Regions from separate parts of the Homo sapiens genome. Here regions 1, 2, 3, 4, 6 and 7 are each linked to region 5. Evidence: promoter capture Hi-C in 16 types of primary human blood cells and fetal thymus (Javierre and others, 2016). All regions are on one chromosome and are shown on one strand. The core of a region is centred on a gene start or on the middle of the fragment in contact, and the rest is flanking DNA. Distances in the headings are between cores, read along the strand shown.

Region 1 (3,293 bases), core at 369-2,868, 310 kb before region 5:
ATTACAGGTGCCCGCCACCACACCCAGCAAATTTTTGTATTTTTAGTAGAGACAGGGTTTCACCGTGTTGGTCAGGCTGGTCTCGAACCCCTGACCTCATGATCCACCTGCCTCAGCCTCCCAAAGTGCTGGGATTACAGGTGTGAGCCACCGCACCCGGCCTCAACTTTTATTCTCATAGTTTAATTCATTCATTCAACAACATTCCTTTCAGCCAGGCACAGTGGCCTACACCTGTAATTCCAGCACTTTGGGAGGCCGAGGCAGGGGGATTGTTTGAAAGCAGAAGTTCAAGACCAACCTGGGCAACATTGTGAAACCTCGTCTCTACAAAAAATTTAAAAACATTAGCTGGGCATGGTGGCGCACATCTGTGGTCCCAGCTCCTCAGGTGGCCGATCGGGGTGGGAGAATCACTTGAGCCCAGGCGTTGGAAGTTGCAGGGAGCCATGATTGCACCACTGCACTCCAGCCTGGGCAACAGAGGCAGACCCTTTCTCTACGAATGTATACATATATCTTTTGAATTTTCTTTATTCAGACTTGGGGGTACATCGGTAAACAAAACAAAGGCCTCTGGCTTTGTGGAGTTTGCATGCTAGCAGGCTTCTCCCTGCACCTCTGTGGAAACTGCTATTATTAAGATTTCCAAAGAATAGTGGCTTTCTCCAGTCCTCATGGCATCTTTTGCATTGATGACAGCATCCTCATTTTATGGTCTTCAAACTGGACCCCTACTCTGCTTCTGCTGGTGCCTCCTCCTTCCCTACACACTGTAATGCTCTCCAGGGTCCTAAATTCAGTTCTCACCAGACTCCCCGTGCTCTCGCTGAGATCACATTCACAGCCACAGCTCCAACCATTGTCTGTGTTGGAGACAAATAATTCCTAATCCGTAGTGGACAGTCTCACCTTCTTCCCTAGCTCCACACGTGCAGTAACCACATGTCCAAGGGGTACCTCTATCATGCACACTGATTTCAACATTTCCTCCACCCCCTGCTTTCCACAGTCCCTCAAGGATGAATGGCACCATCACCTACTCTATTCGTTTTCTGGAGCTGCTGTAACAAACTGCTGGTAACTAGATAACTTCACAGAAATTTATTTATTGAAGAGTTCAGGAGACCAGAAGTCCCAAATCAAGGTGATATTGGAATCAGAAGTCCAAAATCAAAACCAGAGTTGTGTTCCTTCTGAGGGCTCAGAGGCAAAATCTGTTCCATGCCTCCACGCCTCTTCTAGCTTCCGGCAGCTCCCAGCAGTGCTGGCATTCCTTGGCTTGCAGCTGCGTGTGCCAATCTCTGCCTCCCTCAACATGTGACTATCTTCTTTCTTTGTCTTTGTCTGTGTCTGTTTCTTCTCTTCTTATAAGAACGTGTCATTTTGGTGGTTGTTTTTGTTTGCTTGTTTTTTGTCGGTTTTGGTGTTTTTTGTTTTCTTGAGACAGGGTCTCACTCTGTTGCTCAGGCTGAGTGTGGTGGTATGATCACAGCTCATGGCAGCCTCAACTTCCTGGGCTTAAGTGATCCTCCTGCCTCAGCCTCCCAAGTAGCTGGGACTACAGGTGCACACCACCACACCTGGCTAATTTTTTGTATTTTTTGCAGAGATGGGGTTTAGCTATGTTGCCCAAGCTGATCTTGAGCTCTTGGGCTCAAGCAATCCACCCACCTTGGCCTCCCAAAGTGCTATGATTACAGGTGTGAGCGACCACACCCGGCTTACACCAGTCTCTTTGGATTTAGAGCCCACTTTCATCAGGATGACTTCATCTTAACTTTATTACATCTGGCAATGACCCTATTTCCAAATAAGGTTACATTCATAGGTACCAGGAGTGAGTACCATAGCTTTTAGGAGGAGGGAGATAATTAAACCCATAACATCCACCTACTCTACCAAGCTAGAAACAGAAAAAGCATGCCTGATTTTCTTCCTGTCCCCATTTCTCGTTAATCTATGAGCAAGTTCTTCTATTTCCCATCAAGATCTCCCATTGAGCCCTCCCTCAGTTCGATCTTATTCTTCACTCCAGATCCATCTTCCTCATAGCCCCCAGTGACTTCCTGTGTCACTGTGCTGTTTTAAAATGTCCAGTGCCCCCCACTGCCCAGGGGATCATGTCTAGATTCTAGTTTGACTCAAGGGTCTTTACTCAGATTCCACACCAGCTTAATTTCTGCTTCTTCATTCCATGGTTTCCAGACCTCAGCCATACAGAATTTCTCCATGTTCTCCAAATATATTACAGCATTCTGTCGCTTCTTCCAAAGACCCTCTCTTGGCCCATTTTCAAACTTTTAGTATGGAACATACTATTTCATAATCACATTACATATGTGATTTGATTACATCAGGTGTTTACATACATCTCTCCCTAAAACACCTCCAGGGAGCATTGCCCAATTAACACATGAGCTCTCTTATTCCTCTTTTTGTTGTTTTTTTGTTTGTTTGTTTGAGGTAGGGTCTCCTCCAGCCCAGTCTGGAGCACAGTGGCACAATCATGGCTCACCGCAGCCTCGAACACCTGGTTCCATCTATCCTCCCACTTCAGCATCTCTAGTAGCTGGAACTACAGGTGTGTGCCACAACACCTGGTTAATTTTTGTACTTTTTGTAGAGACAAGGTTTCACTGTGTTGCCTAGGCTGATCTCAAATTCCTAGCCTCAAGTGATCTGCCTGTCTTGGCCTCTCAAAGTGCTGGGATTACAGGTGTGAGCCACGGGGCCCTGCCTCTCTTACTCCTCTTAATGTACCTAGGAATTAGCATATTTCTTGGCACCCAGAGATATTTATTGAACAAACAGGACCTTGGTTCTTTCACTACCTTTGGCCTTGGATAAATTGCTCACCCTCTCTCACCCTGTTTTCTCATTTCGTAAGCTCAGAGGGTCTATAAGTGCCCTTTAAGCAGTGACAGTCCACAATCGCCCTGACCTCTGTGTGCTGTTCTCATGTCCCAAGAGAGCTTCTCTCTCTTTATGATCGGGAACAATCAAATCAATTGCGAAAGAGCCTGGCCAGTGACACTGCACCAGCATTTTCCTGAAACCTCTTTGCAAATGATTATTCAGCAAAAGGCTCGGTTAGGCAATAAGCTCCTTGGCAAAGTCTCAAGACACGGTGGAGAACAAGCCCAGTGACTTGCTCTATAATGTCTGCAAGGCTGAACGATTTCTGCATCACCAAGGGAGCCAGAAAGGAGCTTTTTCCCATTAGGTAGCTCATCTTAGAACCATAAAATCTGAGGATTGCTAGAGACCTTAGAGGTCATAGAATCCTCCTG
Region 2 (3,333 bases), core at 766-3,265, 260 kb before region 5:
CCAACATGGTGAAACCCGGTGTCTACTAAAAATACAAAAAGTAGCTAGGCGTGGTGGTGGGTGCCTGTATTCCCAGTTACCCAGGCTGAGGCAGGAGAATCATTCAGTCTCCAGGAGGCAGAGGCTGCAGTGAGCTGAGATAATGCCATTGCACTACAGCCTGGTGATAGGGCAAGATTCTGTCTCAAAAAAAAAAAAAAAAAAAAAACTACAGAAATGACTACTTCCCTACCAATCTTTATAGTTACAGAGCTAAAGACCATCAAAAACATCATCATCTTTAAATATAAAATCAACAATCACTGTTCTGAGTATCATAGTAAATCAAATGCATTTCTTTTTTTTAACCCCGTTATCTTTTCCTCCTTAGCACTTATCTCCTAATATTCAATATAACTTATTTGTTTTGTTAATTTGTCTCTCCTACCAGAAGTAAGCTTCATGGGGGCACAATTATTTTTCCTGTTATTTTTCATTGCTGTGCCCTTAGCACTTAGAACAGTGTCTGGCACATACTGAGAACCTAAATATTCAATAAATATTTGTTGAATGAATAAACTCTGCAGGGAAAAACAGGTACAAAAGTGATGGAGACAAGGGTAGGAGCAAGATGGCTTAATGAATATCATTTTATATCACTTTGACTCTGAACTATGTGACTGTAGTACCAATATATTTTTTAATTAAATTAAGGAAACAATAGATGGAATGTAAAATTTCTATCTTTATCAAAACAATATTTTTGCTACTGGGGTTAATAAAATCACTCTATGCTTGACTTCCATCTGGAATCTTGTTGTACTGTTGCACTGAAAACAGGCTCAGTTTTAGATTGGAGGAGTTGGGGGAGAGGAAAGGTAGGAAGAGAAATATATTTTGTCTTCTAGCAAATACGTTAGAGACACAGAAATAATTAAAATGTGGTCCCTGGCCTCCAGGAGCTCAATGACTAGTAATTGAATCAATCAATATTTAACATTTGATATAATATTAATGTACTCAGAATATCATTCACACTTATTCATATACATACATATGATATTTCAATTTGAGCAATTATAAACATTGCAAATTTTTCTATGTATTATTTACTGCTGCATAAAAAAGGCAACCATGTTCCTTTTTCTTTTCAGTTGAAATTCAGAATAAGAAACCATGCAGTAGATAGACAGAGATTAAAATATCAGCTTACTACTGATAAAAGCTAGCCTGGAGAATATTGCTCAGGTGGTAAAGAGGCACAATGATATGTTACATGCAAATGAATATCAATCATCTGTTGGAGTAAAATAAAAACTGTACTAACAGTTATGCAAAGATTCAGAGAATATATCACCTATCCACCCTGTTTGGGCAAAACACTTAAGAAAGTAATCAAGACAGGGACTTGAAGATGGAACCATGAGAAAAGGATGGTGGTGAGCAGAGAAATGACTCCAAGTGGGGGATGGGGGAGTGTCAAAGGCAAAGACACTTTAAACAGAACAGATACACTTCAAGGGAAAAACTAATAATCTAAAGTTCAAAATATTAAACTATCTTAACAAAATCTAGCAGCTACGTAACTAGATGCAAAACATGAAAATATTCGAAGGTCTCATCTTATTGGGATGAAGGGGAAAGCAATGGACAAATAGAATCTTAGTGCGGAAAAATATCTAAAAACTTGTTTTCCCATGAAAATGGCAAAAAAAGAAGATAACCATGAGAGGAACTGTAGCAGTCTTTTTCAGTTGAGTTTCCAAATCAATAGGGGGCGGGGTGTCGGGGAGAAGAATGAATTTCAAATCAGAAAAAGATAAGAAAGTCTGGGTGAAGCCAACAGTTAAATAAAGATGAAGTACAATGTAAGACAGAAGGAATAAATCACATACATCAATTGTTATAATAAATGTGATCAGCCTACATACTTCTATTAGGACAGAAACTATCACATTGAATCGAAATCTGTTTATACATTCTTTTTGCAAGAAGAACACTTTAAAACAAATAATAAAGATAAGTAGATAAAGGTAAAAAGTAAAGAGATTTGAGGAAAACTCAACAAAAAGAAAGCATGAATGGCAATATTAATGTCAGGCGAATTGAAATCAATAGTTATAAGTATATTTCCAAATAAATGGAATCATTGTTAAGATAAAAGCCTGTTTTTTGAAGAAAATAGAAGTAAAAAATCTGTATGTACCAATAATACAGAGCAAAATATGTAACTTTCAAACAATTAGAAAAAAAACTTGGATAAAAATATAATTAAAGTAGGCACTTTTAATACACACCTCTTAAGATTCTCACTTGTCTCTGTAATCCCAGCACTTTGTGAGGCCGAGACAGGCAGATCACCTGAGGTCAGGAGTTCGAGACCAGCCTGGCCAACATGGTGAAACCTCGTCTCTACCAAAAGTATAAAAAAAAATTAGCTGGGCATCGTGGTGGGTGCCTGTAATCCCAGCTACTCGGGAGGCTGAGGCAGGAGAATCGCTTGAACCTAGGAGGTGGAGGTTGAAGTGAGCCGAGATAGCGCCACTGCACTCCAGCCTGGGTTATAGAGCAAGACTCCATCTCAAAAAATAATAATAAATAAAAATTAAAAAAGAATCTAACTTGTCTAACAGACAGAAAATAGAGAGGCTCATAAAGGACTTGAATAATGTAATCAATACACTCAATTTCATATCTTAAAACTTCTCACTACACAATACATATTTTTACCTATAATCACCAAACACGTCCAAAAATGTTTTATGTTGGGCCACAAGGAAACCTTAATACATTTTGAGTAGGAGAGTTTTACCAAACATATTATTTAGTCATAAAAATACAGACAAAATAATTCCAACTACTTAGAAATTAAGAAATACAGTGATTTAAAAAAAGAAATACAGAGGTAAATAACTCTTGGAATAAACAGGAAATAAACAGATTTCACAGCATCTAAAAAGCAATAAGCAAGAAAAAACCATATCCCAGTTCCAAGGATGAAAAAGCCCAAAATGAACTACAGAAAAATATATAGCACTAAATAATAAGATAGTTTTTTAGATGTTAGTTTCTTAATTTCAAAAAATCATTATACAAATATGTTTTCACACAGATTTTATCAGTAGGTTGGGGATTTACTCACAGCTGCTTTTGCCTAGAGTACAGCAATGGGTTTAGAGCTTGTAACAACTTGTTAAAATTAAACATCCCAATATTGCCTGATTTCCTACTTTACATTGGAAATTATTATATTTATTTATTTATTTATTTATTTATTTATTTATTCTGAGACAAGTTCTTGCTCTGTCACCCAGGCTGGAATGCAGTGGCATGATCCCAGCTCACTGTCACCTC
Region 3 (3,404 bases), core at 41-2,540, 380 kb before region 5:
TTTTACAGCATTATTAGAATATGCAAACATTTGAAAAAAAACAATAAAAATAAAAATTGACACGTAAGTGTATATATCTAAAAAGCAACATTGTAATCTTTATGATGATTAAATAACTTGCTGATGTATTTTTGCTACGCTTTTGGCTGCATATTCTTTTACCTTCTCTTCCTATAGGGAATAAATTTGAAATACAATTTTCTGTATAGATGATTTAGTGTCTCCTCCAGCATGGCTGATCAAAATTAATTTTTAGGATTGAGAGTTGAGAAGAAGTTGACTTTTGCTTGACAGCTCTAGATGGTAATGCCTCCTCTGTAACTTCCTCTGTGGTTTCTAGCTCTGGCGGTACTTCTTGCCAGTGAACAAGGCCTCAGAGAAGTGCAGCCTTTGTTCTTACTAACATGGCACCCTGTGGCATCCAAAGGCCCAGGCGACAGCTGGACTGTTTGGCCAGGACCACAGAACCATCAGTTCCCACCACCCTCCCAAATCCTGAGCTGGAGCTGGGGGTGACATAAGGTAGCCAGGAAGCTTGGATCAAGGTGACCCCGGGCAAGGAGCAGAGCAGAGCGTTTCCTTCAGATCTTCTCCTTGGATTGGGACATGAGATCTAATGTCCACGAAATGCATCATGGGAGGGCTTTTGCTGGACTCCAAGTAAAGTGGAGATAGTGCTGGTAGTCGCCTGACCCCACTCCAAGACCTAGGAACCCTGACCCAGGTGACCTCCCAGCAACAGAACAGTGTTGTGTTGTGTGCTGCTGCTGGGGTGCCAGAGGAGACATGTGGCATCAGAAGGGTCCTGCAAGTGAGAAGCCCTGAAATGTAAGCTTCTTTGTTGGCTTCAAGGTACATTGGCCTCTGTGAGGAGGAAAACCAGGAAAGAAAACTGTCAGGAAAGCCAAGTGAAGAAAATATTTCCAGGAGGGAGTGATCAATAATATTAAAGGCTGTATAAGATGCTGACTGGGAACTAACCATTGGATTTCACAACAGAGAGATCATTGGTAATCTCTTCTTTCAAAATAACTTTAATATTGGAATGGTTGAGCTGCTTCTTTTTTTTTTTTTTTTTTTTTTTTTTGGTAAACATGGGATTTCCCCATGTTGCCCAGGCTGGTCTCTAACTCCTGGGCTCAAGTGATCTGCCTACCTCGACCTCCCAAAGTGCTGGGATTACAGGCATGAGCCACCATACACCACAGATTGTTGGTAATCTTGGCACACAGTTTGGTGACATAGTGCAAACAAAAGTCCAGTTGAGATAGATTCATGAGAAAATAAAGACAAGTAGGGGACAGTGAATTGACCTAACTATTCACAGGACTTTTGTTTCTAAAAAGAAATGTTCATGATTTTTATTTATTAATACAACATGATAAACAGAGTATTTTCTATTTGTATCTCTTCAAAAAATTCTAAATTGCATTGTCCCTCTGGTTTTAGGTCACAGTAGGTCCTAAATACAAAAGCAGTTCCCCATTCCTTATATAGACACCCAAAGTAGAAAAAAAAAGGGAACTTAAAATAATCTAGAGACTTGGCACTCTCTTTCCAACCCGTGGGCATCCAAGTGAAACTAGTCTACAACTTGTCTCCCAGAGCTGGAGGCCAGACAGACAGATGGAAGTGGGGATGTTGGGTTCATATGTGCTGACCTCTGTTGTCCTGTGTCAAGTGTTCTTGCACTTGAGTCCTGGGGAACATTTTTGGGTGTTGTTCAGTTCTCTCACTTTTTTCTAACTGAAGCTTGACTTAGCAGAGTGTCCCCACCTTGTCCCACCCACTTATTTCCAAATTGCTTTGATTTTATGCAAAACATAAATTTTTCACTAACTTTATGGTTTGCATAAAATCACAGCAATTTGGAAATAAGCACATTTAAAAATTGTATCTTTTATTTTTTGTTTTGTTATTTTTGTTTTTATTTTTTAATTTTAGAGACAGGGTCACACTTTGTCACTCAGGCTAGAGGGCAGTAGTGCTGTCATAGCTCACTGTAGCCATGAGCTCTTGCGCTCAAAGGATTCTCCCACCTCAGCCTCCTGAGTAGCTGAGACCACAGGTGCGCACCACTATGCCCAGCTAATTTTTTTGGCAGAGGGGATAGAGATGGGGTCTTGCTATATTGCCCAGGCTGGTTTTGAACTCCTGGCCTCAAGTGATCCTCCCACCTCTGCCTCCCAAAGTGCTGAATTTCAGGTGTAACCCACCGCACCTGGCCTAAATCATATTTTTTAAAATGTGGTAGCCCATCTCATTACGTGTGTGTGTGTGTGTGTGTGTGTGTGTGTGTGTGTGTGTGTCTTTACTGCAAAATTCTAAGACTTTTCAAAGCACTCTCTTAGTATTTTTTTAAATTACTGAAATAAATCATTTCATTTAATGATTAGTTTTTTATTTAAAATGTTATTTACAGGTAACTTTTGCCATGACAATATTGCTTACAAAAGGACCCTGTTGTCTTGGCTGTCCCTTCTGTGTGACCCTACCTATGTATATACACATGTCCATATGAATTTTGTTTGTGACTCACTGCATATTAGTCTGAATTGATCATATGACCACAGTCATTGTCCTTTTGATTCAGTAACTACTTGCTAGCCTATTAAGATTTTCACCGATCTCAGGGGTACAGTGCAAAGTTGGTTAAGTTGGCCCAAGAGGTTTCTTCACCTTAGTTCTCTGTTGAGTGAATTATTTGATATAATCCGTAACTTTAGAGATGCTTCTGTTTCCTGTTTTACGCTACACAGAAGCCTCGGCTTCCCCTTTCTCCTCCCTCAAACGTTGCAAGAACCTTTAACCATATGCTGTGTTATTCTGTGAACCACTTCCTCTTGATAAAACGCTTTCATTGCATTTTGAAAAAATACAACACTGAAGGAATCAGGTAAAATTCAATATTCTAAGTTATTTTCAATCACACTGTACACAGGTGACTTCACAGTTTCCACCAGCATTTGCGAGCATCCGAATTCTGTAGTGCGTATTTCATCCTAAGGGCAATCCCATTCATAAGCTTTTTAAAATTTTTTTCTCCTCTTTTGTATCTGTAGTTGTAATATGTCTACTGATTTATTTCCTAGAAAAAAATGTTGCCAGATGGTTTCTAATTAAAAAATAATAAAAATATCAAAGCAAATTGATACTTGGAGAGCCTCAGATTTTTGAAACTTATTTCTCATCAATTCCAGTTCTATTTTAGTTTTGGCAATCTAGTAATAAACTCAAAACACTGTAGGGTAAAAAAACAACAGTCCCTGTAACTCCAGCACTTTGGGAGGCTGAGGCGGGCTGATCACCTGAGGTCAGGTGTTTGAGACCAGCCTGGCCAACATGGTGAAACTCTTTCTCAAGTGAAAAAAAAAAAAAAAAATTAGCTGGTCATGGTGGCCGGT
Region 4 (3,319 bases), core at 69-2,568, 420 kb before region 5:
TGTATTTTTATATCCTAAGAATGTTCACCAGTTATCCACTATTGATTTGCCTTTTTTCACTCATCAATCAAAGTTTTAAATAGTTCCATATTATTATTAGAATGAGCTACTTATAAAGTTCATTGCCATAAATGTCTGTTTGATATGTCACTTTGAATTTTCTTTAAGCCATCTTACTTCCAAAGAGCATTATTATTTTCATTTTCTTCTAATTCTCTTCAATTTTATTTTAATTATTTTTATGCCTAAAACATTTTAGTGAGTCCACAAATCTTATAATAAATTGTCTGCGTTCCATAGCCTATTGGACCACAATCTTTACAATTTTATAGGACCCCATGAGTTTATATTATGGAGACTACGGTGATCTTAGGAATGCTTGCCTCAAAACAGAACAATTTTTATTAACACAACAGGTATCTTCTCAGTATGAAAATGAATGTGTGTGTTTTATGTCACTGCTGTCATCTAAGAGGCAAGTCACTTAAAGCTTAAGCATTTATTATAAATTCATGTACATAATAAATGCCAGATTTTAAAGTGTAAGATTTCTACACTGGTTGCATGGGGATTTTAAAATACATATTACACTTTTAATTATCGTGAGAAACATGACTTTTAGAGAAAACTGCTAGATATCTGGAACAGTAATCATTAGATTTCTCTTGAAAAGAGAGAACTAGCCGCATGAAGGAATGCCATTACACCTATACCCAGTTAAAGAGACTAGATTGTACCTGCAGCTTGGAAGGGCAGACCCTGAGGACAGCTTTTGGGGGACTAGAGGATGTGACCTGCCACCACTGCATCATCATTTCCTAGCCAATTTGTGATCCCAAAATGAGGACTCCAAAGAGGCTGGCTAAATGTGCAGAATATATTAATCTCACTGAGTGGTACCATGGAAATATCACAAGCCCCTGAGATCCCGTTGGCTCCACTGGTCCCAAACCTCAGGCATGAGCAAGCAGAGAGGTGACACCACTCCAAGGCATCACACGTTCTCATTATTCCACATATTCTGGAGCTTGATTCCGTGACTCAGTTTTAAAACATTTCCTGAGCGTTGACCATGAACTTGAATAATTAAGAATCATAAGAGCTATTTTCTTTCTTCTCTGTCAACTCAGTTTTCTCTTTGATCATCACATAGTAATAGCAAATAATAATTATTATAATGTTTACTTATAAATACTACCAGGCCCTGTACTAATTTAGATGTGTCATCTTGTTAATCATCACATCAAGATGAAAGCACAGAGAGGGTAAGAAACTTACGCAGGAAGTAAGAAACAGAGCTGTTGTTTGAACTGGGCCATCTGATGGTGGCACCCATGAAAAAACCTGGGGCCTTTCCACAATGAGTTTATAGTCTAGAAGAGGAGATGTAACTAGATGTAAGAGGAGATGTAGAATTCCATGCGGAACCAGAGTTGAGTGCTGTGGGACTACATATCAGGGTCCCTGGTCTCCCCAACCAGGGTCACGGGAGAAGGTTGAATAGAAGGAAACCAAGCAAAGAACTTATCGTGTTATCATGGGAAGACAAGTTAATATAATCAACTTTGAAGTTATTATCTTTACGTGTGCCTTGAAAAAAGAATCTGCTTTGTTAGCAATCGTGTGTTTTCATTTTTGTGTTTATTTTATTCTAATCCCACATGACAGCCGGCTAGGTTGATTAAATCAACAAGCAAGCAGTGAGTTTAATATTTTTTCTAATTCTGTTGGGGATCTTTTTGATTTAGTTTCATGTTACAGACTCATCAGTGAGATGGTTGTGGGCTGGGATGGGGGATAAAAGCTAAATCACACAGCAACTGTGTTTCCCCAAACCGACTGGAGGGTTTGCATCCAGAGAGCTACATCACATCAAACTGGAGAGAAACAAAAAATGATATTAGAGCAAGTGAATCATGACTAGATTCATTTCTTCCTTCATGTTTTATTATGAAATGTTTCATATCTACAAAAGATGATGTATATATGTAAATAACAACAAATAATAATAAAGCCAACATCTGGGTACCTATCACCCAGCTTAAGAAGTAGAATATTTACCAAGACATTTCCTGGTCTCCTTCCAATAACATTTCCCCATTTCCCAGCTAGAGGTAATCATTATTCTGAATGTGCTAATTTTTAAAAAGCTTTTAGGAAGCATGTACATACATTTGTAAAGGATGGTGTCAAACTGGGGATCAAAGAACACTGGCATGGCAGACTGGAGTCAGGTTCTCCACCGACTCTGGGTGGTCACAAGCAGCTTGTGCTGTTCAGTAAAGACAGCTTACTTTAATTGAATAGCATAAAAACAACATGTATTAGAAATAGTTAATAGTAAGTACCACGGAAATTGTGCTATCTTAGACATTGATAAAGTGACCAAGAATCATCAGTAAAGAACTATGAGTTTTAAGTGGAATAAAGAATATGTGGCCGGGCGTGGTGGCTCACACTGGTAACCCCAGCACTTTGGGAGGCTGAGGCAGGAGGATCACTTGAGGTCAGGAGTTCAAGACCAGCCTGACCAACATGGTGAAACACTGTCTTTACTAAAAATACAAAAAAATTAGCCTGGCATGGTGGTGCATGCCTGTAATCCCAGCCACTCGGGAGGCTGAGGCAGGAGAATCGCTTGAACCCAGGAGGTGGAGGTTGCAGTGAGCCAAAATCATGCCATTGCACTCCAGCTTGGGCAACTCTATCTCAAAAAAAAAAGTTTCAAGAGCGAAACTCCATCTCAAAAAAAAAAAATTACTTATATGAGGAAAATAAATAAAGGAGGCAAAAGAAAAAAAGAATATGTAACTTAGGAAGTCATCTCCACTTTATTTATTTATTCATTCATTCATTCATTTTTGAGACAGGGTGCAGGCTGGAGTGCAGCAGCACAATTAAGGCTCACTGTAGCCTCAACCTCCTGGGCTCAAGCAATCCTCCTGCCTCAGCCTCTCATGTAGCTGGGATCACAGGTGTGCGTCACCATGCCCAGCTAATTAAAAAAAAAATTTTGTAGAGACAGGGTCTCATTTTGTTGCCCAGGCTGGTCTCGACCTCCTGGGCTCAAGTGATCCTTCCACCTCGGGCTCTCAAAGTCTTGGGATCACAGACATGAGCCACTGTGCCCGGCCAGATCTCCAGTTTAAATACAATTCAATCATTTTCAGTCAAAAATGTTTGCTAAGCACTATTATAGACGCAAGGAATGTCAGTGAACAAAAGAGACAAAGATCCCTGCATTTGTGGAGTTTATTCTGGTGGACAGATACAGATGCTACTCAATAAGCATAATAAATAAGTAAATAATATAGGTATT
Region 5 (3,521 bases), core at 216-2,715:
TACCAAAAGCAAGAGCATTCCTGGTGCCTTTATATTTATACAAAGGACTGTGCTACTTTGTTTCTAGCGCAAACTGTTGGTTTACACAGTTAAAGATCTTCAAAACAAACTACCACACACAATTCACTTCCAATCATCCAAAGAGAAACGAACAAACAAGCATCTGTCACAAAGTCCCAAGAGTTTTCTAATTTACAATAACAGATATTTTTACGTTGTAGTTCAGAGGCTACCTCTGTTCGTTTCTGTATTTGGATTCACATACTATACATTTACTTAGCTTGTTAAGAGAGAAACCTCAGAAAATAAGCAACCGGCGATGACACCAGTCTATTTTAAGTTACTTATGAAGCCTACAGCTCAAGAACTTTTGGGAGAAGGGAGGGTAAGCCGTTTTTCCAAGGAGTTAAGAACAATTCGTGTTTGATAATTAATGATAGCAGCCCTAACAACCTCTTAGAATACATTATGGTGGGGCGGAAGTGAAAACGATGAGAGGGGGAAAAAAATAAAAAAAACCCGACTTGAAAATGGACAAGCAGACAGATTTACAAACCTTCAATTAAAGGAATTTTAAGATGAACTTCTCTCAAACGCCCTCCCTCACTCCCCACACCCGCTTCCTCCTCTCCTCCGGGAGGTCGGTGTAATGTGACTCATGACAAATTTTTTTTAAATAAATAAATAAATAAAAGACACACCCTCTGGGGGCTGAAACTGACATAATCGCCCCCACCCCACCCTCCGCCGACACACAACACACACCCCGCTGGTCCTCTCCCTTCTGCGGCTTCAGCCTCGTCCCTGCCCTCTCCTCTCCCCTCTCCCGTCCTGGACCTCCTCTCCCGGCGCAGAGAGGCGGCGCGGCGGCAGCTCGGGGGTATTCCGGGACTCCAGCCCTGCGGACTGGAGGCTACCTGGGGGGCGCGCGACCCCGGTGGCCGGGCCCTGGGGGAAGCGGACGCGAGGGGGGCGCCGGGCTGCGGCAGCGGCGGGCTCCCGGCTCCCTCGCCCATTTTCTCTCTCCCCTTCTATCGGTTTCCACCACCACAGCCACTTCCTGTATCGCAGCCCGACTCCCTCAGCCCGGCCACTCGCTCTGTCCCCGGTTGGGGCTGGGGTTGGGGCTGCGGTAGGGGCTCGGGTTGGTGGCAGCCGCTGAGGTCAGGGCAGTTCCCCACCCCGCCCAGTGGGCTGGTCACTCCGGCGGGTCCTCGACCCGGCCAGCGCCCGCCGGCCGCCAGAGCGCCTCACCTGTATGTAGTTGTTTTCACAGTAGTCTGCCACCCGAGTCAGGTTCTGGTAACTCTCGATCAGCGCCCTCTTGCCAGACGGGATCTCCTCCTCTAGTAACATCTGCAGCTCTGCCATTTTCCACCCCTCTGCATCGCTTCCTCTCGCGTTAAAGAGACAGAGGCAGCAAGGTCCGCCGAGGCTCCGAGCACCTCACAGCCCGGATACAAACCGCCTACCCGCCCTCCCGCCTGGTATTGTGGGACGGCACCTCCTCCCCTTCCTCCTCACTCTCTCCAGCCCCCCTCCACCCCCTTCGTGCAGCCGCCTGAACCTCGTTCTCTCGCGAGCGTTTATTTCTCCCACCCCCACGGACCGCGGGATTTTTTTTTTCTTTCGCACTGTCTTCTGGGAATTGTAGTCTCTCCTAGGCTAGGCGGCCCGTCCAAAGCGCATGCGCCCAGACACCTCCGAAAACCAACGCGGCAGAGCGCAGAAAGCGGAGACCGAGGGTGGAGGGAGGGGGCGGTGTTGGGGGGAAGTCCGGAGTTTCCTCACAGCTCCGGAAGGTGGCGCCACAGGGTGATACTGGGGGAATGAAATCGGTTCCCCAAGTTTCATGTGAAACTTGGCAGAACTTGGTTAATTAGGAAATGTCAGTGAATCAAGGACACCCATTCAGAGAAGGATTAAAAAGGGGACAGAGTACGGAAAACTAGATTTTTACTTCCTCTGCCTTCTTAGAAATAAAGCGAGTCAGGCTTTACTTTCTGAAGTTCCGCCCCCATCAATTCATTTAAAATTTAGCAAACATTTCTTGATTGCCAGCTGTTTACCAAGCAGCGTACTAGACACTGGGGGTACAAGTTGAGTACGAATACTCCGTACCCTTAAAGACTCAATTATAAAATAAACATACATAGCTTGTAGTGCTTTCCTGTCCTAATTTCTCTTTTCTCTGACTCTCCTTATCATGTAATCTTCCTACACTTTTAAGGTCATGTGCACGTTTTTTTAGGGGTGGGAGTTGTTTGCTTGTTTGAGACAGGATCTCACTGTTACCCAGCCTGGAGTACAGGGGCACAATCATGGGTCTCTGCAGCCTAGACCTCCTAAAGTCAAGCGATCCTCCTGCCTCAGCCTCCAGAGTAACTGGGACTACAAGCGTCGGTCACTACACCTGGCTGAGCTTTTTAATTTTTTATAGCGACAGGGATCAAATTATGTTGCCCTCGCTCGTCTCGAACCCCTGGCCTCAAGCAATCCTTCTGCCTCAACCTCCCAAACTGCTAGGATTACAATCATGAGCCACCCACCCTGATCCTTCGTTTTTTGCTCCTGGATTTTTGTTTTGTTTTGTTTTTATCACCTGCTTTGGAATAGTCTCAAAAGGCCCTATATTTCAAGCTCTTCACTTCAACAGGAACATTAAATGCTTCGGATATAATCAGCTATGAAAAGTGTTGTCCAAAGACTTTGGACATATGTTCATGTATCTCCATAAAGTCATTTAGAATCAAAATAACTAGGAGTAAAAACATCACTCAACCAAATTAAAAATTGCCAGCACCAGGTATTTATTGAATATTGCCTTTACTGGGGCCTTATTCAGGGCCCCAGGGAACCAGTTTCCCTCTTCGACCTCTGAAAGGAAAAACTCAGTTTCCTACTAAAAACGTTAACTTCCCCTTGCCACCAGATTCTCCATCAAGGAATCTATCAAAAGATAACTATTATACCTATTCCAGATATTATGGAAAGTAATACATTTATTATCTGGAATAGGTGTAATAGTTATCTTTTGATATTTATCGTTAACCCAAACACGACTTAATCCAAGTTATTAAAATTTAATGTATTATTGATCTTGGTCTCTACTTGAGGTTTAACTGTAGAAATCACTCAGTTTGTATATATTCAAATATTGACACATTTCAACAACATTGGGGAAGTGATTAGGGAGGTGATACTAATTTACTATTTTCAACGTACTGTCCATGCAGTTGAGCAATGAATGAATAATAATGATGATGATGATAAATACAAATAAAAAGTACTGTCAGATTTCTTCTCACAACTCTGAGAGACAGATAATATAAATATTATTTTCCTTCCTTATCAAATAAGGAAATTTAAGCTTAGATAGGTTAAGGAGTTTAGCTAAGGGCACTGAAAATGCCGTCAAGTTTCCTAGGTTACTGATTGATATGGTTTGGATCTGCATCCCTGCCAAATCTCATGTTGAATTGTAATCCCTAATGTTGGAGTTGGGACCTGGGGGAAGCGGG
Region 6 (3,477 bases), core at 180-2,679, 280 kb after region 5:
ATCCTCCTTTTTTCAAAAGGAACTTTATTTATTTATTTATTTATTTATTTATTTATTTATTTATTTATTTGAGATGGAGTTTCACTCTTGTTGCCCAGGCTGGAGTGCAAGGCATTGCTGCTCACTGCAACCTCCGCCTCCTGGGTTCAAGCAACTATCCTGCCTCAGCCTCCTAACCTCAGGTGATCCACCTGCCTTGGCCTCCCACAGTGCTGGGATTATAGGCGTGAGCCACCGCGCCTGGCCTATTTTTTATGTTGATAGGGGATAAAGGTAAATAGAGAAGTCAGAGGGTTATACAATATAATTTAAAAAACTGAGTATCAACTCTGATAAACTGTGATTTCAAAAAAAAAAAAAAACCCAACCAAGTAATTAAAATAGATTGAATCTACACAACTGATTTTTACATGTTTTTGGTAATTACATAATGTTTTTGAAAAAAGGGTAAGTGTATCAAATTAGTGTCTTCTAATTTCTCAAGCCCCAATCCCACTTCCCAGAAGTATAACCTGTTAACAATTCTGACTACCCTTGTATGCATGCACACAGGTGCTCTTTCTATAAAAACTACTCTAGAAATAGTACCTAATTTTTTGCAATTTTCATTTTTCGTGCATATTTTTCAGAACAGAACAGTGCATTCAGTTTAATGGCTGTTTACACTTTTCCAATTTATCACAGTGCAATTCATTCAACCATTTCCCTGAACATTATTTGTTTTCTGGTTTTTATTGCTGGAAACAATACTGTGGTGAACATTCTTATATATGTATGTCAGCAGATGTAGACTGAATTCCTGAAAGAAACACTGTTAAGGTTTAAATTTTGTTTGACACTAAGAGACTACTTTCTAAAAAAGGCTGTTATCAATTTATGTGCCCACCAATGCTTATGAGTTTCCTTTTCTTCATATCCTTGCCGACACTAAATAATATGAATCTTTTAAATTTGTGCAAGTCTGACGGGCAAAAATAACAGTACCTTGTTTTACTTTGCATTTCCCAGATTACAAGTGTGGGAAAATTTTGAAAAGCTTCCTCTGTATTTTTATTGACTATTTTTATTTTTATTTCTTTAGTAAATTGACCATGCATGTCCTTTGCACATTTTTCCATTTTTATTTAGATAATATGGATGTTACAGATAGTAATCTTTAGTTATATATATTGTAAACATTTATTTTAATGTGTCTTTGTCTTTCGATCATATACAGTAATTTATTAGCTCAGTGCAGCCATACCTTTGCTGTGTTTTCTGCATTTTAACTTGATTAGAGTTTCATTGCCAAACTAAGATTTTAAAGGTAGTCTACTTACTTCTAATATTTTCAGTTTTATATTTTTGTTTTCAACCCTTTAACATATTTGGAACTTTTTTTTTTGGTATGATGTAAGAAAAGAACTTGATTTTTCCAAAACAGCCACTTAGGCTGATAACATTTGATAATCCATCATTTGCTTATTGATTCAAAATTCTTAATTTTGTTGCACTGATGTATGTCAGCACTAGGTTAAATTTTTTAATTTTAGTTATTTGTAATACTACACTACTGATTTCCATGGCTAAATATCTGTATTTTCATGTACTTAAGTAGGATAAAATCCCCTTCATTAGTATTCTTTTAACATGTACTCAGTTATTCCAAATTAAGTTTAAAATCAACTTCTCGATTTCCCAAGTGGGTCATTAGAGTTTTGATTGGGGTTGTATTGACTTTACAAATTTGGGTGTAAATTGATACTGTTGTAATACCTAGTTCTTCCAAATAGGATTATGGCCTTATTTTATTTCACTCAGTTCCTCTTTCATTTCCTTCAGTAAAGCTTCATACACACACGTGTGTATGTGTGTATATATCTATGTTGTATATTTCCTGTCAGGATAAAACATTTACTGGGTTTTAAAGAAATTGTAAATAAAACCTGCCGCTAGAATATAAGAAAGCTATTGATTTTTATGCATTTATCTGGTATGGACAATGCAGTGAACTCTTTATTTCAACAGCCTTTTGGATGATTTTCTTGAATTTTCTGGTAAACAATCGTTATCACCTGCAAATTATAATTTTACTCCTTCTTTTGACTTACATATGGCTCATTTCGTTTTCTTTTAAATCATATTGTTCAGAATCTCCAAATTAATGCTGAAAAAAAAACCAGGATACTCCATGTTTCTCAAATTAACAGGAACATAATAGATGTTTAATAAATTTTAAGTTTCCTTCCATTTCTAACTTTCTAAGAGTTTTCAGGAAGCACAGCAATTAAAATATATCATGTCTTTTTATCATACATTGAAATAATGATATTTTTCTTTTCTAATCAATATGATAAATTGACTTACTAATAATCTTAAATCACTTTTGTATTCCTTAATCATGATATAATATTTTTAGCACATTTCTAGATTTGCTTTCTTCAGATTTTATTTAGGATTTCTGTTAAGTGAAACACATCTATTTTGTTCCTCTGTCGTGCTTGCGTGTGTATATACATTCAGACACAGATACATACATATATACATATATATATTTTTTAGATAGGATCTTGCTGTCACTCAAGCTGAAGTACGGTGGCATGATCATAGCTCACTGTAACCTTGAACTTTGGGCTCAAGCAAACCTTTCACCTCAGCCTCCCAAGTATCCAGAACTACAGGGGCATGATACCACGACGGGCTAATTTTTGTTGCTGTTGTTGAGATGATGTCTGGGCTTGTTTTGAACTCCTGGCTTCAAGCGATCATCCCAAAGTGTTGGGATTACAGGTGTGATCCACAGTGCCTGGCCTTATGCTAATACTAAAAAGTTTTACTAACAGCAATCTCATGGAATAAATAGGGAACTCTATCTTTTTCTTTTTAATAAGGTTTTAAATTAAAAAGAAACTCAAGATTCTAGAAGAATGCAGCCATAAAAATTATCTGAACCTAGTGCCTCTGGGGCAAAGGGACAATATTTTTAAAATACTGTCTTTTAAACTTCATGGTTATTATCCTATCTCTTCTTGGGTTAACTTTGTTAATTAATTGCTTAGACAATTGTCCATTTCAACATATTTTTATTTTTGACATAAAGTTACACATACTACCTTGCAATTTTAAAACCTTCACATATCCATGGCAATTCCCACTCATACTTCTAATACTGTCTGTATTTTCCTGTTGTTTCTTAATCAGAATTGTTAAATTGTTCCTTTTTTTATACTAAATTTGTTTTTGGTTTAATTAAAACTATTTCCACCTATTATTTTAAAATGTTTGCTTTGTGTGTATTAATTTCTTCTATTATTTTTCAGAAATTCAATTTATTTTCTATCTTTATATCTTAAATTTTTTTTTCTTTTTGAGACAAAGTCTTGCTCTGTTGCCCAGGATGGAGGTGCCATCTTGGCTCACTGAAACTTCCATCTCCCAGGTTCAAGCGATTATCCTGCCTCAGCCTCCCGAGTAGCTGAGATTACAGGCATGTGCCAC
Region 7 (3,152 bases), core at 48-2,547, 360 kb before region 5:
GCCCTTTTGGTTTTTGCTATTTCTTTGTTGTGGCCAAGTGGATGTACTCATAGGTTTGCTTGGCTAAACAGCCCTGCCAACAGGTAGGTTCTCAAGATTGTAGGCTAAGGAAAAATTTTACTACGACAGACTGCATCCTCAAACAGCTTTTCTTCTCCAAGTAACTGGAGATTTCTTTATTTGATGTAATGACTTAAGTCATTACAGAATTTTATATATATATATTTATATAAATATATATTTTATATAATATATATTTAATATATATAAAATATATTTTATATATATTTAATATATATAAATATAATATATATATTATATATATATAGTGTGTGTGTTCACCATTACAAGAAATTATGTGTTCTTTATAAAAATTAACTACCTCATTATCATTGCTCTCAATTGACGTGGTCTGTTTCAAGATCTTCCTTCTAGAATAATTTTTAAGCTGTAATTTTCTATAGGGGAAAAATTACATAAAACATTTTCAAGTTACCATATGGTTTTCAGAGAACACACTAAGGGAGAAAATGTGTAAATGATACATGGTTTTTGACTTGCTGAGTAAAGTGTGCTACAGAAATGTTTGTATCATGAATAACTTTGATGGGGGGATCTTTTTTCACAGAGTTTAGGAGTTGACACTCTCCCTCCTCCTGACCCTAATCCACCCAGAGCTGAATTTAACTACAGTGTGGGGTTTAAAGATTTAAATGGTAAGCATAACAATTTCTTTTCTTAAGTAATTCAAAATCATAATGATGATTCAAATCAGTATGAAACTATAATTTGAAAACTAAATTAAAGGAACCTAAACATCATGATAAATATTGTTAAAATCATGGATTTCAGACTGGGTTTTACTGTGTCTAGATTGAATTGAGAGAGTCAAGAAGACATTTTCACCAATAATGAAAGGGAACACCATTCTGCATTTGTGAAAAGTCTCGAAATGATCTCGTGTTTTAAAGTAAGGGGAGTTTCTTCTTATTACTGAGCCCATAGAGTAACAAGGGGTAGTATACAAAAATATTAGTAAGGAAATGTCCCTTCAGTGATAGAAATCAACTATTTCATAATGATTAATAAATATGAATAGATACTTCATAATATTTTATTTAAAATATTTTTTAATTTATATATAATATATACTTATATGTAATTTAGTCTACTTGACATTTTTTCATTTTTCCTGAACTTGTCACTTTATTTTATTACCAAAAATCTCTCAGCCATGCATGATGGCTCACACCTGTGATCCCAGCACTTTAGGAGGCCAAGGCAAGAGGATTGCTTGAGCTCAGGAGTTTGAAACCAGCCTGGACAACATGGCAAGACCCCATCTCTACAAAAAGTAAAAAATAAAAAAATTAGCCAAGCGTGGTGGCATGTGCCTGTGGTCTCAGCTACTTGGGAGGCTGAGGCAGGAAGATCAAGGCTGCACTGAGCTGTGTTTCTGCCACTGCACTCCACCCTGGGCAACAGAGTGAGATTCTATCTCAAGAAAATAAAAAACAAAACAAAACAAAAACTCTGTTTATTTAAATGGAGACATCTTTAGGCCACGTGCTATTCATATTATAATAAGTCTTGAGGCCAGGCGCAGTGGCTCACGCCTGAAATTCCAACACTTTGGGAGGCCGAGGTGGGCAGATCACAAGGTCAGGAGATCGAGACCATCCTGGCTAACACGGTGAAACCCCATCTCTACTAAAAATACAAAAAATTAGCCCGGTGTGGTGGCAGGTGCCTGTAGTCCCAGGTACCTGGGAGGCTGAGGCAGGAGAATGGTGTGAACCCAGGAGGCGGAGCTTGCAGTGAGCTGAGATCGCGCCACTGCACTCCAACCTGGGCGGCAGAGCGAGACTCTGCCTCAAAAAAAAAAAGTCTTGAAACAATCACTTTCAAATTAGTGAGAACTCCCTGCAACTCTGGAAAAAGATTTCCCAAAGACTTGCTGTGCCTACCAAAAATGTGAAAAGCAAAATAGGAGAAAAGTTCAATTACAGAAATCCAGAATTCCAAGTTTTATTTCTGTCCTCTGGATTTTTTTTTTTTTTTTTTTTTTTCAGGCAGAGTCTCTCTCTGTCACCTAGGCTGGAGTGCAGTGGCGGGATCTCTGCTCACTGCAACCTCTGCCCCCTGGGTTCAAGCGATTCTCCTGCCTCAGCCTCCCGAGTAGCTGGGACTACAGGCATGCGCCATCATGACTGGCTAATTTTTGTATTTTTAGTAGAGACGGGGTTTTGCCATGTTGGCTAGGCTGGTCTCGAACTCCAGACCTCAGGTGATCCAACTGTTTCAGCCTCCCAAAGTGCTGGAATTACAGGTGTGAGCCATGGCACCCGACCAGGATTTCTTTGTTTCTATCATTTCTAGTAGTTTTGTAGTAAACCATTAAGTGCCAGTGACTCTTTCTTGATAAATTATAATATACATCTTGCGATTTTCTCTTTTTCCTACACTTTTTTTATTTGCCACATAAATTTATTATTCCTGCCAGTCATTTCCATTAAGATGGTAACATTCATGAAGTTTTTTTACAAAAGCAGGCCAGGCGTGGTGGCTCTTGCCTATAATCCCAGCACTTTGGGAGGCCGACGCTGGTGGATCACTTGAGGTCAGAATTTCAAGACCAGCCTGGCCAACATGATGAAACCCCATCTCTACTAAAAATACAAAACTTATCCAGGCAAGGTGGCGGGCACCTGTAATCTCAGCTACTCGGGAGGCTGAGGGACGAAAATCACTGGAAACCAGAAGGCGGAGGTTGCAGTGAGCCAAGATCATGCCACTGCACTTCAGCCTGGATGACAGAGCAAGACTCTGTCAAATAAATAAATAAATGCTATACACTTTAGTAAAATTATGATGGCAATAGATAACATATACTTGCACATATGAAAAAAGCAAATTTAGCCTCACCAATTCATAACAGCCACATGCTTTATAATCAGTTCAATTAAAGTTAAAATTTAATCAATATTTCAACTTAATTGTAGTCATCTCAACTAACGCTTTCTAAGCACTAACTCAGTGCCTGGTATCACAGTACTGACAATGATAGGAGCAATGATACCCAGCAAGATATAAACATAGTGATATTACACTACAGTAATAAGACACTCTTCTCATTAAGGAATCAAGATATA

What was found. Contacts are between HindIII fragments. The CHiCAGO score rates a contact against its expected background, and 5 or more counts as called.
Region 1: a contact is called between a fragment that was not itself captured here and the fragment with the promoter of ABI1 in region 5, in 1 of 17 cell types (fetal thymus). The highest score is 6.9, in fetal thymus.
Region 2: a fragment that was not itself captured here is called in contact with the fragment with the promoter of ABI1 in region 5 in 1 of 17 cell types (total CD4 T cells); the score reaches 5.9 in total CD4 T cells.
Region 3: a fragment that was not itself captured here is called in contact with the fragment with the promoter of ABI1 in region 5 in 11 of 17 cell types (fetal thymus, total CD4 T cells, total CD8 T cells and 8 more); the score reaches 12.6 in fetal thymus.
Region 4: a fragment that was not itself captured here is called in contact with the fragment with the promoter of ABI1 in region 5 in 4 of 17 cell types (fetal thymus, total CD4 T cells, total B cells and 1 more); the score reaches 6.9 in fetal thymus.
Region 6: a fragment that was not itself captured here is called in contact with the fragment with the promoter of ABI1 in region 5 in 3 of 17 cell types (naive CD4 T cells, megakaryocytes and fetal thymus); the score reaches 6.2 in naive CD4 T cells.
Region 7: a fragment that was not itself captured here is called in contact with the fragment with the promoter of ABI1 in region 5 in 1 of 17 cell types (neutrophils); the score reaches 5.3 in neutrophils.

The regions. Positions count from the first base shown.
Region 1 is chr10:26,553,158-26,556,450 of GRCh38, forward strand. The region is part of intron 11 of APBB1IP (amyloid beta precursor protein binding family B member 1 interacting protein); the gene reads left to right. Among named protein-coding and RNA genes, the nearest start is that of LINC03028, 25 kb to the right of the region's middle. The HindIII fragment of the contact is 8,879 bases long and covers 1-3,293 here.
Region 2 is chr10:26,597,937-26,601,269 of GRCh38, forward strand. No RefSeq gene overlaps it. Among named protein-coding and RNA genes, the nearest start is that of FAM238A, 9.7 kb to the left of the region's middle. The HindIII fragment of the contact is 3,160 bases long and covers 436-3,333 here.
Region 3 is chr10:26,479,560-26,482,963 of GRCh38, forward strand. All of the region lies in intron 2 of APBB1IP (amyloid beta precursor protein binding family B member 1 interacting protein), which reads left to right. Among named protein-coding and RNA genes, the nearest start is that of APBB1IP, 43 kb to the left of the region's middle. The HindIII fragment of the contact is 919 bases long and covers 832-1,750 here.
Region 4 is chr10:26,440,703-26,444,021 of GRCh38, forward strand. All of the region lies in intron 2 of APBB1IP (amyloid beta precursor protein binding family B member 1 interacting protein), which reads left to right. Among named protein-coding and RNA genes, the nearest start is that of APBB1IP, 4.0 kb to the left of the region's middle. The HindIII fragment of the contact is 1,660 bases long and covers 489-2,148 here.
Region 5 is chr10:26,859,493-26,863,013 of GRCh38, forward strand. ABI1 (abl interactor 1) reads right to left here and starts at 1,466. Exons shown (of 11, transcript NM_001012750.3): 1 at 1,255-1,466. The coding sequence starts at 1,371. RefSeq lists silencers at 839-988, 1,099-1,188 and an enhancer at 1,509-1,708. The HindIII fragment of the contact is 3,622 bases long and covers 1-3,368 here.
Region 6 is chr10:27,136,677-27,140,153 of GRCh38, forward strand. All of the region lies in intron 4 of YME1L1 (YME1 like 1 ATPase), which reads right to left. Among named protein-coding and RNA genes, the nearest start is that of YME1L1, 16 kb to the right of the region's middle. The HindIII fragment of the contact is 790 bases long and covers 1,035-1,824 here.
Region 7 is chr10:26,495,676-26,498,827 of GRCh38, forward strand. APBB1IP (amyloid beta precursor protein binding family B member 1 interacting protein) reads left to right here. Exons shown (of 15, transcript NM_019043.4): 4 at 629-716. Among named protein-coding and RNA genes, the nearest start is that of APBB1IP, 59 kb to the left of the region's middle. The HindIII fragment of the contact is 5,009 bases long and covers 1-3,152 here.